3 separate regions of the Homo sapiens genome follow, and regions 2 and 3 are each linked to region 1. Evidence: promoter capture Hi-C in 16 types of primary human blood cells and fetal thymus (Javierre and others, 2016). All regions are on one chromosome and are shown on one strand. The core of a region is centred on a gene start or on the middle of the fragment in contact, and the rest is flanking DNA. Distances in the headings are between cores, read along the strand shown. Region 1 holds the start of GTF3A (general transcription factor IIIA). Region 2 overlaps PLUT (PDX1 associated lncRNA, upregulator of transcription). Region 3 overlaps PLUT (PDX1 associated lncRNA, upregulator of transcription).

Region 1 (3,875 bases), core at 1,376-3,875:
ATATGCCCAACACAACCCACTTCAAAAGCCTAAAAACAGGTCTCTACTTACACAAACGGCTTTTCTCCTGTGTGAGTCAGAATGTGGCGGCTCAGATGGTAGTCCCTGATGAAGGCCTTGCCACACCCTTCATAGTCACAAACAAATGGTCTCTAGCAGGAAAAAAGAAAAAGCATGTCACTTCTGCACTAGTTAGTAACTCTGGTATTATTTAAAAGCTTAAACTGCCTAGTGTTAAGGCCACAGGCTTCCTATGAAGAGGTGGTTTCTACTCAGAGCTGTGCACCCACTGCAAGACGCAGTGTTCCTGCACAAAGTTACACAACATAAACATCACAACTTCTCACAAAGTCACTACACAGATTTTTGTTCCATGAACAGCATTTAAAATAAGCAGGCATAGCATTTTTAACCTGCTCCCAACCCGGCAGCAGGCTTTCACAGCAACCCCCTCTTAAAGACGCCCTGGCTGTTAGCATGGCTTGTCTGCATGGATCCCCACCACCGCATGATTTAACATGTAAAAAAGCAAGCCTAGGGCAGAGGAACGAGGGAGGCCTGTCTCATCCCAGACAAGCCCAGGGTCTGTGCTAGGATAATGCCAAGCACAGCTATAGGAAAGTGTGTCACACCTGAAAAAGCTCACAGGTGCCAGGGCGAAGCAAAGAAAACAGCTCAACACCCTAAATGCAACCACCTTTTGTAACCCAGGAGTTGGGAGGGGGTGACTCATTTTGAACCTATAGTAAAAGCCAAACACACACCCCAAATAACCAAATAACCAGTTTGGTGCATCAAACTATGAAAAGCATACTACCAAGGCGTCCAGGAGGGAGGCACCGAGGCCTCCATGAGAGTACTAGGAGCAAAACAAGCAAACAGGAACACAGTGAGCTACATACCACCAGGGGCGGAGCCACAGAACCTTGCACAGCGGCAGGCGTGGAGTAGGCTCAATAAACATTTGTCAAATTAATCTGCATGAGAGATCTGGGACAACAAAGATGACTCCAAGTTTTTCAACCTGTATTAAGGAAACTGGTAGCGCCAGTATCCAAAATACAGCACACCGGTCTAAAAGGAAAGGCAAGCTCTTACGTGGATCTACTGGTAATACAGAGCCCAGAATTTAGAGGCTAGAACGGGCAAGAGGAAGGGCAGAGGGGCAAAGCATAAAGGATGTTATGAGTCATGCCGGTGGCTATGTAAGACCGCAAGAGGGAGCTGGGCGGGGTGGAACATGCAGAGGGCAGAAGAGGATCCAACGAAAAGGGCAGACGAGGAAGAGGAAAAGAACCAGAGAAGGTCTCAAGGAAGAAGCGGTCGGCCTTCCAGTGCTGGAGAGGTTAAGGAATGAGGCCCCGGAGGACACCTGGAGAAGGTGGCCCATAAATTAGAGGAGGTGCAAGGGGCAAAGGTATGGACTGCAGCCCAGTGGTTTAAGAAATTAAGGGCTTTAAGCTGAGGCAGTGTGAAGCCTAGCTCTGCCAAAAACTGGGAAGCTGGGCAGATTCCTTGACCTCCATGACCCTCGTTTTCCTCACTTGTGTGTGACATGGGCTGCCACGTCATATCATGGTATCTGACATTCTCCTGCCCTCAAAATAAAATCCAAACTCCTAATGGGCCTACTTCTCAGACCTCATATGGTGATCTCCGCACCCAAACACACCCACCTGCCTCCCACCCCAAGGGTCACAGGCTCCCTTTGTGTTCTCTCTACCTAGCACAAATGTCTGCATGGCTAGATCCTTCCTTCTTACACGGCTCACACAGAGAGGCCTTTCCTGACCACAACACTGCATGTCATTCCCACCTATCCTGTGGTCGGCTCGACCCAGGAACAAAGGTCCATGGCAGCAGAAACCTTGGGTTTGCCTGTTTTGCTCACTGCTCTCTCCAGTGTGGAGTTACGAAGAAATGAGCACATGCTGCTTTCACGACCCCTGGTACATGTAACCCATCTTCTGTACCAGCTCCAGGGGCCAGTGTTTGGCAGGTGTCTAGTAGCGGTGGGCCCCCTCAAACCTCACACTTATTTGCAGATTACGGGAGGCACTTGGCTGGCCGAGACTCACGATCAATGACTGCTTAGTAAATCCCGAGCCCCTGCCATGGATATCAAGGTCGCAGAACGAAGGTCCTACAACTTCCTGTCTACTTCCTCAGCTCCTTCCCCAAGTCCTGGATGTCAAAGCTGAACGCGCTGCACAGCGGGGCCTGCGGCCCTGGCCACGACTGCAGTGGCTACCCCGGGGCCACGCGCCATCCCTAGGCCCAGGGTTGGCAGCCTCGCCCCCCTCACCTCCCCCGTGTGCTTGCACAGGTGCGCGTCAAGCTTCCAGGCTTTGCTGTAATTGGCGCTGCAGTCAGGGAAGGAGCAGATGAACCTCCTGGGAAGCGCGGGGCGCGGCGGGGTCGGAGCTGAGCTCTCGCCGGCTGCAATGAACGCGTCGGCGATGGTCAAGGACGACACCGACTCGGCGACCACGGCCGGCGGATCCAGGGCGCCGGCGCCTCCAAGCCCAGGGCCAGGCGCGCTGCCACGTGCCGAGACACGTGCCGGGAACCGGCGCGCCCGGCCCACGGCTCCCTGCTGAACCTTCGCGCGACGCCGGCACACTTCCGGGAGCGCGCGCGGTCACCAGGCACCGCCCCGCGTCGGCGCCGCTGCTGCGCATGCTCCGGGAGATCGCGCATGCGCCAGGAGGCCCCGCCGCGGCTCGCGGCCCGTGCCCTGTCAGCCCTGGATGAGAGGCGGGGGTTTCTGCGTCCTCGGCAGAAGGCTGCTGCGTTTCACAGGCAACTCAAATCCCGAGGCACTGCTTAAATGGGGCTTGTTTCCCGTCCTCCAGTACACTCTGGAAAGCACTAGCCTTACATAATTTAAGTTAGCCTGTTGCCACATTACTAGTGTGACCTGTGTGGTTTCGTTTCTTTGCGTGCTTTACGTGCTTCTGCTGCAAGCCCCAGTTCAGAGGTTCCTAAGCTCAGATTCACGTGGAGAGCTTTACAAAATCCCGAAGCCTAGAGGATACTTGGACCACTTAAATCACAATTTCTGGGGGTAGGAAACAGGCATCAGTATTTTTGGAAACTTCCTAGGTGATTTCAATGCGCAGAAAAGTTTGGGAACCACTATCCTGGCACAGTAGTGCGCACCTGTAGTCCCAGGTACGCGGGCGAATCGCTTGAGCCCAGAGTGAGACCCCGAGCTCTAAAAGAATAAATACAGATGTCTCCCCATCCTACCCTTCCCCACCCCGGCAAACTGACCAGGTGGTTGGAAAAAAAAAAAAAAAAAAAGGAAAAGTTTGGGAACACTGCCCTAGAGCCTTGATGACCTACTTGAAACAAATCTCCAGGTGATTCAGTGCATATCAAAACCTGAGAAGCACTTTTGAGAGGCCTGAATGAATATGAGTATCTTAGTTTATGAGGACCACATGCCTAAAAAATGTCCTTGGATACAGATAACTGGCAGGATGACTTGGGGGATGTTCGCCAGATCCATATTTTTCACATCCTGCATTATTCCGAATCATTAAGCCCTTGTCGGAATGTGATGAACAGGTCCCTGCACAGCAGTGCAGTTCTGGAAACAAGCCAGGGCTTAACATCAGTGCTTATGAACTGAGTATTCCAGTTCATAAACACTCCTTTGCCTCAGTCTGCTCATCTTGAAAGTGGGAAAGTTGATAACGCCTGTGTCATCCTCCGTCTCAAGATAACGGGGCTGTGAGAGTGTCTATGCCTTGGGTCCACCTGTTGCTTTCTTCATTTGCCACTCTAGCCCCTGTCCATGGATGGGAGAATTCTACACTCATCCCTCCCACAACTCCGGAATTCTAAAATGGTTTCTCTTGCGCCAGTTC
Region 2 (3,813 bases), core at 120-2,619, 390 kb before region 1:
TGACTTCCCACTCATGCTTTGGTTGCAGTTCCAGAGTCTGCTACAGGATCTCCCATACAGAGTGGCCTGAAGGCACTGGTTTCCCTTGGGAAACAGCGAACTCATGTCCCTGGACTTCTCCCCTGTGGCCTCCCTCCCTGCTTCCCTGGGACTGTTAGTACCTTCTCCTATGTTTCATGTTGACCATACAGCTTTGCCTTTTTCCAGTCTAGGTTTATGCCAGACATTGTGTCTGTTATTTTCCCTTTTTAAAGTGATATCTGGGCTGAGTGCAATGGCTCATGCCTGTAATCCCAGTACTTTGGGAGGCCAAGGCAGGCGGATCACCTGAGGTCAGGAGTTCGAGACCAGCCTGACCAACATGGAGAAATCCCATGTCTACTAAAAAGACAAAATTAGCTGGGCATGGTGGCAGATGCCTGTAATCCCAGCTATTCAGGAGGCTGAGGCAGAAGAATCGCTTGAACCTGCGAGGCAGAAATTGTGGTGAGCAGAGATCACGCCATTGCACTCCAGCCTGGGCAACAAGAGTGAAACTCTGTCTCAAAAATAAATAAATAAATAAAATAAGTGATATCTGTGATATCTGGCCATATCGCATCAATTTTCACTTGAGGACCCACCCCTGCCCAATCTCGGTCTCCTGGATCCCAGAGGGGTTGGTGACCTGGGGTCAGGCTCAATGAGGTACTGCTCCTCTCTGCCACTTTGTTCAGCTTGGGGGTAACATGTAACAAAGCAGAACCGATAAAGTACATTTTTACTGGGGCTAGTTTTTCCTCATGTTAGAGTTGTTAAGCTAATAAGAAGTAATCCCAGAAAGCCTGGTGGTCTTCCTTTACTACCAGTTGTAGGAACCTAATTACAAGCTCCATGAGGACCACGCATTTTTTTTTTTGTCTTGTTCAATGTACCCCCAGGGTACTCTGTTTACTGGTTACTGCATCCCCAGAGCCTGACAGTGAAACAACTCAGAGAAAAACAAGCTAAGAGATATCAGTGTCTGACATCATCATTGGAGCAGCTGGATACAGCTATGCCTGAAGTCGTTAAATTCGTTTTTATGCTTAAGTCTGTATTGGTCTTCTGCCACTTGTAACCCAAAGAGTCATGACCAACACAAGCAAGTGTTGACTCAAGTTTCTTGAGAACTTTCCTGCAAGAGCAATCACAGATAAACAGTGACCTTGGGGGCCACAGTGGTCTCCCCAGGGCCTTAACATGCCACCTTTCTTTTCTAAGATTTCTTAAGCTCTGTGGCTTACAAACCCCTTGATAGCAGTAATGTGATTTTCTCTGTGTTATTTAAGTGTTCCATAGCTGCTGGGCATGGTGGGTCACACCTGAAATCCCAGAGTTTTGAGAGGCCAAGGCAGGTGGATTACTCGAGGTCGGGAGTTCAAAACCAGCCTGGCCAACATGGTGAAACCCTGTCTCTATTAAAAATACAAAAAAAAAAAAAAAAAAAAAAAGCCAGGCATAGTGGCAGGTGCCTGTAATCCCAGTGACTCAGGAGGCTGAGGCAAGAGAATTGTTTGAGCCTGGGAGGTGGAGGTTGCAGTGAGCTGAGATTGCACCATTGCACTCCAGCCTGGACAACAGAGTGAGACTCTGTCTCAAAAATAAATAAATAAATAAATAAATAAATAAATAAATAAATATATAAATAAAATGCTCCATAGCTTTTCAGACAGGACTGGCTTCACAGTGGAAGCCTCAGGAGATACTGGGCAATCGCTGCACTGGGAGGCCAGGGTGCAGGGCTGCTTCTTCCTTTCTGTGAACTGAGAACTATACTGTCTGGTGCTTAGCGTGGTTCCTGGAGTATGCTATGTGTTTAGTAAATACTTGTTGATGGAATGAACAATGTAAAGTGCACAGATCCCTTCCAGATCTCCTGAGAAAAGCAATGCTGGAAAGTATCTGTATCCCTGTAAGCCTCTCCTCTCTCTTCTTTCGTCTCATCTCTCCTTTTAGCATGACGTTTCCCCCGATCCTCTTTGTCCGGCTTCCTTGGGGTTCAGTGGCTGTGTGGCCCAGGTGTGAATGCCTTTGTTCTAGGGGTATCACATAGGCCTTTTGACCTGTCTGTCTGCTCCAGGCTGGGAGTCTCCTGAAGTCTCCCTCTCAGTATCTTATTCAGATCTGACTCTCCAGCATCTTGGGGAATAGCTGCCTAACAGAACACTCAGAACAAATGCTCTATGCCTGAATGAGTGGTGGTTTCCTAACTCCAGCCTCCTGCTGCTCCATCCCAACCCCTTGCTTCTGTGAGAGGGTCCCTCTTCTGGAGAGATGAAGGTGAAGTCTGCTCTGATCTCACAGAGCAGTCCCCGGCCCTCTCCACCCAGCTGTCTGCCCCTCCTGTCAATATTACCAACTTTCCTCTCAGAGTTCTCCCTGCCATCCCACCCACCATGGCCAATAAAGCCGAGCATTGGTCCCTGCTAAGTCACAGCTAGGATACTCCCCTCCCACAGGAGGGAATACCTATTATTGTGGCACTGGACTGTCCCTGGCCCAGCTGGTTGAAATGTTTGCTCCAGCTCCATGGGCTGGCCTGGGGGGTGTTTTTTAAATTGTGGACAAAGCTGTCTTTTTTTTTTTCTTTTTTGAGACACGGTCTCGCTCTGTTGCCCAGACTGGAGTGCAGTCACACTATCACGGTTCACTATAGTCTCTACCTCCTGGGCTCAAGTGATCCTCCCACCTCAGCCTCCCAAGTAGTTGGGACTACAGGCTCATGCCACCACGCCTAGCTAATTTTAAAATTTTTTTGGTAAAGCCGGTCACTTTGTTGCCCAGGCTGGACAAAGCTGTCCTTAAGAAGAGATGGCACAGGGATTGCAAGTGAAGAAGTGAGGTTTCAGCCACACCCATCTATGCACTGGGAGGGAGCCCTTGGCCAAATCATGTCACCTCTCTGGGCTTCTGCTTCCCCAGCTGGAAAACGACCAGGGCTTGGGAGAAGAGATGAGCTCAAGGGCATTTTCCAACAACAAAGTCCTCCAACCTTTTTCCAGTTTTCTGAAGAAGGGATGACTTTCATGTGCTTAAGGGTACAGGAGGTGGGTGGGAGAAGCTGCATCACACAGGAATGCCCAGGAAGGCTCAGCCTGGTCCTACCATCTTACTGAGGAGTTCTCAGAGTGATTCTTGGGGCAGGTCCAAGCAAGCACCAGACCTGGATGGTTCTTACTCCAAAATGGATCTCAAAGTCCACCCACTTCACATTGCCACAGCTCAGACCACTACGTTTTGAAGCTGAGTGACTGCAACTGCTTACTAACTCATTCATTCACTTCTGCATTAATGCATTGCACTTCTGCTTGTCTCAGGGCAGTGCACTGCGCATACACAGTGTTCGGGACAGGTCTCCTGCCTTCACCAAGCAACGGTCTAATGTCAGTGAAGGACACAGACAAATATCCAATTAATCTTGTGAAAAGGACAAAAGAGAATGTAATGTAAAAACAAAGAATGAGGCAGCAAAGAGCTATTTAGGTGGGTGAGGAGAAAACATATCAGCTGAGATTCGAAGAATAAGAAGAAAGTGACCAGGAGGAAAGCCTGGAAGGGTGTTACAGGCAGAGGGAACAACATGTGCGAGGCCCCTGAGGTGGGAAAGAGAGAGACCAGCCTGGCTGAATGAAGCAGAGTGAGGGAAGGAGGGAAGGCGGGAGCATGGAAGTGATGGGCCTTAGTCAGCAGGTGGGCAAGGAAGACTTGAAGGCCACAGCAAGGGGTTTAAAGTTCAGCTACGATAAAAATTCTGGTAAGGGTTTGTTTTTTGTCTTTTTAAGACAGAGTCTT
Region 3 (3,861 bases), core at 1,279-3,778, 420 kb before region 1:
GCCAACATGGTGAAATCCCATCTCTACTAAAAATACAAAAATTAGCTGGGCCTGGGGGCACATGCCTGTAGTCCCAGCTACTCAGGAGGCTAAGGCAGGAGAATTGCTTGAACCCAGGAGGTGGAGGTTGCAATGAGCTGAGATCGTGCCACTGCACTCCAACCTGGGCAACAGACTGAGATTTCATCTCAAAAATAAATAAATAAATAAAATTAGCCGGGTGTGTTGCCACTTGCCTATGGTCACAGCTACTTGGGAGGCTGAGGCAGGAGGCTTGCTGGAGCCCAGGAGATCGAGGATGCAGTGAGCCATGACTGTGCCACTGCACCCCAGGCTGGGTGAGAAAGTGAGACCCTGCCTCAAAGAAAAAAAGAAAAGAAAAAACAAACACAGTTGGTTTTCATGAGGATATGTATTTTCAATTCTCTTGGAAGTAGAATTGAAGTAGCTCTACTTCCTTGGAAGTAGAGCTGCTGGGTCATATGGTAATTCTGTGTTTAATTTTTTGAAGACATTTCAAACTGTTGTCCAGGGCAGCAGCACCATCTTATAATCCTACCAGCAATGTGTGAGGGTTCCAATCGCTCTACATCCTTGCTAACTCTGTTAGGATGTGACTTTCTGATTGCAGCTTTCTTAGTGGGTGTGACGTGGTATCTCATTGCAGTTGGTTTGCATTTCCCTAATGACTCATGATGTTGAACATCTCTTCAGGAGCTTATTGCTCATTTGTATATCTTTCTCAAACTTTTGTCCATTTTAAAACTAAAATGTCTTTTTATTGTTGCCTTGTAAGAGTTCTTTATATATTATGGATACAAGTCTCTTATCAGATGTATGATTTGCAAATCTTTTCTCCCATTCTGTGGGTTGTCTTTTCACTTTGTTGATGGTATCCTTTGAAGCACAAAAGTTTAAAACTTTGATGAATTCCAATATATCTATTTTTTCTTTTGTCACTTTTGTGTCATATCTAAGAAGCCATTGCCTAAGGACCCAAGGATTTACTCCTATATTTTCTTTTAGGCATTTTATGGATTTACCTTGAAGACACTGCTCCATTTTGGCTTATGTTTTGTATATGGTGTGAGGCAGTGGCTCAGCTTCTTTCTCTTGCATGTGGATATCCAGTTGTCCCAGCACAGCTAATTGAAAAGACATTTTTCTCATTAAATTGTCTTGGCACTCTTGTCAAACTTCATTCTCTTTGCTAATTTTCTCAGTTCTGTGTTCTTTTTCTGCTCTTATCTTTATTATTCCCTTTCTTCTAGTTACTTTGGGCTCACTTTGCTCTTCTTTTTCTAGTTTCTTATTGTGGACTCTTAAGTCTCTGTTTTTGTACACCCTCCCACCACCTGACCCAGTATAAGCACTTAAAGGTATAACTTTCTCTCTAACCACTGTTTGCTTACATTCCACAAATTTTTACCTTTTTCATTATCATTTAGTTCCAAGTATTTTCTAATTGCCGTCATGATTTCTTCTTTGACCTATTGATTCTCTAGAAGTGAATTGTTTCATTTCCAAATATTTGGTGTCTACTTATCTTATTGTTTTTAATTTCTATGTAATTCTGTTTTAATCAGAGAATAGGCTCTATAAAATATAAATCCTCTTCAATTTATTGAACCTTGTTTTATGGTCCAGCATATGGTCTATTTTGGTCAACAAACCACATGTGCTTGAAGAGAATGTGTATTCTGCAGTTGTAACTGGTAGATATAGATTCTATAAATAGCAATTATATAAAAGTGGTTAATAGTGTTGTTCAGTCCATCTATCTTTTTCTTGATTTTTTTCTAGCAGCCCTATCCTAAGATATTCATATTCATATTCATCTATGATTGTGGATTATTTCTGTCAATTTTTTCCTCAGGGATATTTAAGCTCTGTTACAAGACACACACCCTCATAGGATTCTTTGTCTTCTTAGTATATTAATGCCTTTATCCTTATAAAAGATCCTTCTTTGGTAATTTTTTTTCTCAAAGTCCATTTTGTCTGATAACTAGATAGTGTGGGGTGGGGGAAAGGGAGAGGGTCAACAGAGCACCCTTCATCCCCACTGAGCGTAGAACCAACTGAGAGGTAAACCTAGCTGTGGGCAGATGGAGATTAAATGTCAGCGTTCGTGCTGATGAAGCCAATCAGAGGCTGTGGCCCTAGATTTGTGTCCAGATGGGCCTGTTAATACTTCCCTCAAAATTAGGTGGCCTTGCACATCCGGTCACTGGCCCAGATGGACAATAGTCAGCCTTTTCCTTTCACCCTCATCCAGGGCAGACAGCAGAAGGCAGAGGGCAGGTAGGTGGATGGACTTCTGAGGCAGAGTGAGGGGCCCAGAGGAGCCTGCCCAATTCTTCCTCTAAAGACCACCAGTAAGTGAAATGAAGAGGCCAGGGGCTGAGGGAATATTCTAGAGAGGGTTTCCACATAGAAACAAGGAGAATGTGCCCCTTCTAAAAGGTCTCTACAGCTATGAGAGCATGTGAGCTTACCCAAGAAGAGTGAAGGGTGAGGAAGGAGAGGACCTGGACCGAGCACTGGGGGCCACCAGCATTCAGAGGCTGGGCTGCGGAGGAAGGTCCCCTGAAGGATATGGAGAAGGGGTCCCCAGGGATGTCATGGAAGCAAAGGAAGGCATTTCAAGGCGGCATTGCCAGCTGCCAAGAGGCTGAGAAAGTTGAGATCCCCTCATGAAAGCCCAGGCTTGTCCACTGGGGTAGAATTTTGGCAAAGAATCTTTCAAGCCACACACTGAGCACACTTCTGACTTCCCCAATTATGGTAGAAAGGAGAATTATTTACCCTGACCTGGGAGGAAGATTTATAGGTTTATAGGCCCTTAAAGTCACAGTACTCAGACTCTGTTTTCCTAATGGTGAATGGCAAAGAAAACAGCGTTCAAAAATAAACGCCGGTAAACGTGGAAGGCTAGACTCCTTCCTGTGGCTTATTTTAACTTTCATATAAGAAAACATAATCGTTGATTACCTTGGCAATATACCATGCCTTATCAAAGGGCTTTAAAGCACTCTCATTAATCCTTTCAATATACTTGGATAAGAGGTGAAAACAAATATGTGTATTTTGGCCTCATCCTAGAGAAAAAGGAGAGAGTTGGAGAGAAGTCGAGGGCTTTTCTCCCAAAATCCTGGGGGATGACGTGGCATCAGCCGTGGCCTATAGTGCACAGGCCAGAAACTGCCCCCTGCAGCTAAAGCACTGGAACAGAAACGAAGAAGATTCATGACTCAGCTGAAGAGAAGTGAAAAGGTGAGCAATTATATAATGAACAGAATATGCGTCATAGAGTCCTCAAATAACAAACTCACATTTCAAACTCTTTCAGGGCAGAAATAATATTTTACCATTCTTTTCATTGTTGACAGTCCCTAGTACAGGCTAAGACCTCAGCAAATATTTCCTTCCTGGCTGATGACACAGGTTGTCTCTCTGTGTGTATGGGAAGAGTATAGAGGGATGTGAATCTTATTCAGTATATAGAATAAGTAGTTTTCTAAGATTTTGTCCATGGAAGTGATGCAATCAGCTCAAATTTGACCAAAATGGTCTAGGCCCGCTGTGGGTTTTCGGAAGGAAACCTAGTAGAAATGAGTGAGATGAGCTTAAAGTATAAAGGAGCTGAGAGCAAACAAAATAAAAGGCTGGAGTCTGTTTACTGCAAAATTGTCTGTTTTTGCATGAAAGTGTATTTTGGGGCACCCATTTGTGCACTCACCCAACAAATATTTATTGAGCACCTATTATTATATGTCATCGTGCTGGGTGCTTGGCAGTTACAAAGATAAATGAGATGGATTTTCTACCTTGAATATGTCATGGTCAAATGAGGATACC

What was found. Contacts are between HindIII fragments. The CHiCAGO score rates a contact against its expected background, and 5 or more counts as called.
Region 2: a contact is called between a fragment that was not itself captured here and the fragment with the promoter of GTF3A in region 1, in 1 of 17 cell types (total B cells). The highest score is 6.6, in total B cells.
Region 3: a fragment that was not itself captured here is called in contact with the fragment with the promoter of GTF3A in region 1 in 1 of 17 cell types (megakaryocytes); the score reaches 5.1 in megakaryocytes.

What each region holds. Positions count from the first base shown.
Region 1 is chr13:27,423,369-27,427,243 of GRCh38, reverse strand. GTF3A (general transcription factor IIIA) reads right to left here and starts at 2,625. Exons shown (of 9, transcript NM_002097.3): 1 at 2,306-2,625; 2 at 52-152. The coding sequence starts at 2,506. RefSeq lists enhancers at 951-1,170, 2,121-2,190 and silencers at 2,281-2,360, 2,461-2,520, 2,531-2,800. The HindIII fragment of the contact is 2,756 bases long and covers 2,341-3,875 here.
Region 2 is chr13:27,815,861-27,819,673 of GRCh38, reverse strand. It overlaps PLUT (PDX1 associated lncRNA, upregulator of transcription), which reads left to right. Exons shown (of 5, transcript NR_047484.2): 5 at 1-582. Among named protein-coding and RNA genes, the nearest start is that of GSX1, 25 kb to the right of the region's middle. The HindIII fragment of the contact is 8,107 bases long and covers 1-3,813 here.
Region 3 is chr13:27,839,571-27,843,431 of GRCh38, reverse strand. All of the region lies in intron 2 of PLUT (PDX1 associated lncRNA, upregulator of transcription), which reads left to right. Among named protein-coding and RNA genes, the nearest start is that of GSX1, 49 kb to the right of the region's middle. The HindIII fragment of the contact is 7,230 bases long and covers 1-3,861 here.